Regions from separate parts of the Homo sapiens genome. Here region 1 is linked to region 2. The links are contacts of gene promoters, found by promoter capture Hi-C in human tissues and cell types (Jung and others, 2019). All regions are on one chromosome and are shown on one strand. The core of a region is centred on a gene start or on the middle of the fragment in contact, and the rest is flanking DNA. Distances in the headings are between cores, read along the strand shown. Region 1 has its middle 56 kb from the start of MAPK4. Region 2 holds the start of MAPK4 (mitogen-activated protein kinase 4).

The links. Contacts are between HindIII fragments. The study calls those that stand out against the background at their distance.
Region 1: a fragment that was not itself captured here is called in contact with the fragment with the promoter of MAPK4 in region 2 in 2 of the 25 tissues and cell types used here (aorta and stomach).

Annotation. Positions count from the first base shown.
Region 1 is chr18:50,502,985-50,505,684 of GRCh38, reverse strand. No RefSeq gene overlaps it. Among named protein-coding and RNA genes, the nearest start is that of MAPK4, 56 kb to the left of the region's middle. The HindIII fragment of the contact is 5,262 bases long and covers 1-2,700 here.
Region 2 is chr18:50,558,714-50,561,413 of GRCh38, reverse strand. MAPK4 (mitogen-activated protein kinase 4) reads right to left here and starts at 1,327. Exons shown (of 6, transcript NM_002747.4): 1 at 1,171-1,327. The HindIII fragment of the contact is 20,188 bases long and covers 1-2,700 here.

The DNA.
Region 1 (2,700 bases), core at 197-2,696, 56 kb after region 2:
TCCTCACCTGAATCTGAGATGGTCAGTTCCCCAGAAAAGATCCAACCTGATTTACCACACTCAGTTTCCAGTAGAGAAGGTGGGGCACAGAGACAATGTATGAGGTAGGGTCCTTTCTAGGCCTCTTACATCATGGAGACAGAAAATAAAAATAAGCATCTGGCCCATTCAAAGGACCCAGGCCCTCTTTCTGAAGCAACTACATCTTATTATTTATCTACTGCTATGTAACAAATTACCTCAACACTTGGTGGTTTTAAAACAACATTTATTATCTCACAGGTTCTGTGAATCGGAAATCTGGGCATGCCTTGACTGGGTCCTTGGGCTCAGACTGTGTTATACCACTGCAATCAGGCTGTCAACCAAGGCTCACTATGGAAGGGTCCACTTCCAAGCTCATTTATATGGTTGTTGATAGGATTCAGCTCCTTGTGAGCTATCGGACTGAGAACTTCAGTCCCTTATTGGCCTCTTGGCCAAAGGCTGCCCTCAGTTCCTGACACATGAGCCTCTCTATATGGTGGTGCATTATATGACAGCTTGCTTTATCAGAATAAGCAAGTGGGAAAAGCCAAGCAGAGCATGTGCAAACGAGAGAGAAGTCACAGTCTTTTGAAACCTATTCTCAAAAGTGATGTCTCCTCACCTTTATTATATTCTACTCATTAAAATATAAATGTCATTTAGAAAATTTGAAAATATGTGGAACAATAACAGTCATAAGTAACTATTATGTAAAGAAGAAATAAAAAGGAAAATCCAAAAATATAGGCATTTATAGCTATACATATTATAATGTATAGCTATAAATGCCTATATTAAAAAGAAGAAAGATGTCTTTTAAACACAAATATTTCCTATCGTGTTTTAAATATCTTTTAAATACAAAAATTAGCTGGGCATGGTGGCACACGCCTATAATCCCAGCTACTCGGGAGGCTGAGGCATAAGAATTACTTGAACCCAGGAGGTGGAGGTTGCAGTGAGCTGAGATTGTGCCACTGCACTCCAGCCTGGGTGACGGAGCAAGACTCTGTATCAAAACAAAACAAAAAACAAATGTTAACTTTTTTTCCTATCGTGTTTCTCTCTCCCACCATTTCCTTTAAGATGAATGAAATAAAAACACAACATACCAAAACTTACAGGATGCAGCTGAAGTGACATTTACTGGGACATGTATAGCTATAAATGCCTATATTATAAAAGAAAGATTTCAAATCAACCTAACCTCCACCTGAAGATGCTGAAGAAAGATCTAAAGCAAGGAGAAGATAGAAAATAATAAAGATTAGAATAGAAATTAATGAAACAAGGAAGAGAAAAACAATATATAAAAATCAATACCAAAAGCATGTTCTTTGAAAACATCAATAAAATTAACAAACCTTTAGCTAGATTGACAAAAAAAAAAAAGATTATAAAGGGAATACATGCAAAATATATGATATTATATGCAAAAACCTAGATAACCTGGATGAAATGAACAAATTCCTAGAAAGACATAAACTAATAAAACTGACCCAAGAAGAAATAGACACTCTGAACAAAACTGTAATAATGGAAAAGAATGAATTAGTAACAAAAAATCAGATTACTCAAAGAGAAAAGCAGGAACAGATGGCATCAATGCAGACATTCTACCAAATGTATAATTGATACCAACTTTTCACAAACTCAAATTCAAAAAAATAGAAGAAGGAACTCTTCCTAATTCATTCCATGAAATTAGAATATGAGATGATCTGTTCCCCAGAAACTGACCAGAAATTATTCTGATACCAAAATAAGACAAATGCATCACAGAAAGACTGCAGATCCATGTCTCTTATGAATATGTATGCAAAGATTGTAAACAAAAATACTAAGAAACCAAACTGGCAGTGTGCAAAAATTATACACATAACCAAGTACAATTTATCCCAGGAGTGCAAAGGTGGTTCAACACAAGAAAACCAATCAATATAATATACTGCATTAATAGAATGAAGGGAAAAAATCACATGATCATCTCAATTAATGCTGAGAAAGCATCTGACAAAATCTGACATTATTTCATGATTAAAAACATCAAACAAACTGGGAATAGAAAGGAATTTCATTAACTTGATAAAGGACATGTATGGAAAACCCACAGCTAACATCATACTTAATGGTGAAAGACTGAATTCTTTTCCCTTAAGATCTGTAACAACACAAGATGCCCATTCTCACCACATTTATTCAACATTGTACTGGAGGTTCTAGCCAGGACAATTAGGCAAGAAAAATAAGGTAAAAGCCATCCATTTTGGACAGGAAGAAGTAAAACTATCTCTATTCACAAATGACATAATCTTGTATATAGAAAATTCTAAAGAATCTAGTAAAAAAAACTATCAAAAGTAATAAACGAGTTCAACAAGATTGCAGAATACAAGATCAATGTAAAAAGATTGTATTTCTAGACTGATCTAGGGGGCATTCCAAGATGGCCGAATAGAAACAGCTCCAGTCTGCAGCTCCCAGCATGATCGATGCAGAAGATGGGTGTGATTTCTGCATTTCCAACTGAGGTACGTGATTCATCTCACTGGGACTGGTTGGACAGTGGGTGCAGCCCACAGACGGCAAGCCAAAGCAGGGTGGGGCATCACCTCACCTGGGAAGCACAAGGGGTCGGGGTATTTCCCTTTCCTAGCCAAGGGAAGCCATGAC
Region 2 (2,700 bases), core at 78-2,577:
AAAGTCTGCAGTATACCTGCTTTTCACATAGTAGGTGCTCAATAAGTATATTTTACATTAAGGTTATTTAAGATAGCTGCCTTGCACACAGTAACCTCCCAGTAAATGGCTACTGAGCAGTTGTGGACACTCCTCAACCCAGGCAGGGGTGACATTAATCAACCCCCAGGCACAGATCCATGAATGGAAATGCACGTCTCGAGGTAGTGCTTTCGAGAGTGCTGGAGAGGCGCGTGACAGTACGCGGCCGCTGCGCTCTGTCGGGACGCTGCTGACCCACTGCTGGCTCCAGGGTATCGATTAGCGATCGGAATCCATTCCCCACCCAGGGGCGGGAAACAGCCGCCGCCTCCAATGGTCATTTCGGGGACGCACCTGGAACTCCCGCCACAGCCCCCTCCCGGGGCATCCGCCCACCCCGGCTTCACCTACGATTCCGTAGAGTAGCTGGCAGAACAAAAGCAAAAGCCGGCCTGACTTCCGATTGCTTTCCTGATAGAGAGCAACCCGGGAGGAGGCTCAGGGAGCCGGCCCGGGACCCAGCTGGGATGTCAAACCCGAGCCGCTGCCCTCTCCGGCAGGCTGGGGCTCTGGGTCGCCCAGCGGCGAAAGCGGCGGGGTCCCCCCACTCCCCCTCTCCCAGGGGCTACCTACCGCCAGTGTAGGCGCCTCTGTCGGGTGGCGAGGGGAGAGGACGCTGTATTAACCCTTCAACGAGAAAGGGAGAGGCTGGAGGGGAGGATAATCGGGACTGCGATCCGAATCTGAACTCGCAGTGTGAACTGCCCCTCGGCGACCCCAAGCGCTCCGGACTGTCCCCGGGGGTGGGGTCCCCTAGCGGCGCCCGGCCCCTGCGTCCTCCTCCCCTAAACACAACGCGAGGAGCCCAGCGGCAACCTCCCATCCCAAACGGGTCCAGGACAGCACCGGCGCGCGGTCTGCAGGCGAGGAGCTCACCCAGGGCAGCCGGGCGGGTCCCGCGGGAGACCCCCGCCGCTCGGAAACTCGCTAGTTTGGCAGTGGCTTGGCCTGGGGGGCTTATTGTTAGGGTAAGGTGGGGAGGCAGTGCGGGCGGGGAAGTCTCATCTCTTCCCCGCTTCTCCGGAGCCCGCCGAACTCCGAGAGGCGCAGGCGGCGGGAGGAGAAAGCCAGCGGAGGGGAGCCACTTACCGAGGCAGAGCCCGAGAGCGTGGCGGCCCGGGCGCGAGCCGCCCTTTGTCTGCGGCCGCGGCGCCGGCGCGCTCGGCCAGGCCGGTCCCAGCCACGGCGCACGGCGAGCTCCCGCGGTCGCCCCGACAGCCCGGCTCGCTGCTCCAGCTCGGGCTCCGGCTCCCGCCCCGGCCCCGGCCCCAGCCTGCGCCGCCGCCGCCTCGGCTCCGCCCAGAGCCGGGCCCCGCCCCCGCCCACTGGGCCCCCACCTGCTGCGGCGGTGGCGCTGGGGAGCCGGGCCCTGGGCGCCCGGGGGCGGCAGTCTCCCGCGCGCCCTGCTCTGCCCTCCCGCAGCCTCCAGGCCGCTCAGCCGCGCGGTCCTGGGGCCTTCCCGGACCCAGTCCCGCGGAGACGAGCTCACCTGGGGAGCCGAGCCCCGTCCCGGGTAGCCTGGCCTTCCCGGGGCACACGCGGTAGAGCTCCAGTCACTCAGAAGCCCTTCCTCACGCCCGCCGTGGGTGGGGGATCCTCGGGCTCCGTCCGGGAGGGAGGGGGCGCCGAGAAGGCGGGAAGCGGGGATCTGCCTGAGCCCGGTCGCCGCCCCGCCAGCCCCGCGCGGCTGCAGCCGCCGGGGGCCCGGTGGGAGGGTGGGTGGGGAGAAGGAGCCGGCGGGGACCGGTGGGCTCTGGAACCGGGGAGACCCGCGCGCGCGGGAAGGGGCACTGGGCCGAGGGTCGAGGGGGCGCGGAGCCCAAGTGCACCGGTCCCCAGCCGGCCTGGGATTCCGAGCGGGCCGCCTGGGCTGTGAATCTGTGCTCATTGGCATGACCGGAATAAAACTAACAAAAGAGAACCAACACTTTGGGATCCAGAGGAAAGGGACAGAAGAAGCCACTGGACCCTAACACTGGTAATAACTGGTGCTTCTGTGGTGCCTTCAGCGAGCCCAGAGCTGTGGGCACCGATGAGGGTCGTCACTGAACGCGGTGCGTCCCGTTGGAATGGTTGAGGCGCTGCTTTTCTAGGCATAGAAAAGTCTGATAACCTAAATATTGCATAATGAGGTCACTGGTGGCTTTAGCTGCCCATGAGCCTTCTCCTCTCCCAACTCCCAAAGCCTTCCGAGTGAGACCTGCGTTTTGGCACTTTCATAGGGTCTGCTGTGTACTGCAGTTATTCCCGCTTCGTCCCCCACCTCTACCCCCAGACCCTAATACAATTCCAGACGCTTAATAATTGTTGCAAGAATTCGCTGTCGAATTTTAGCGTGGGCAAAACATAAAAATGAAGGATTGTGGGATCATATTGGAAAATGCACTAAGGGTTTGCACAGTGATGGTGGTATGAAGGGTAATGAGTGTTGGCTGCCATTAGTACATAGTTGCGCTGCGACTCCTATGTGTGCAGGTAGTAGGTTTAGGATGATATGCTAAGTTAGAGACTGCAGTTATCAGGACCTTCATTAACCTCAGAGAATAGTTAGGGATAAGGAAGGAGTGTGTAACAAGCGAGTGTGTGTATATCTGTGGTAAGACATTCCAATGTGTCTTC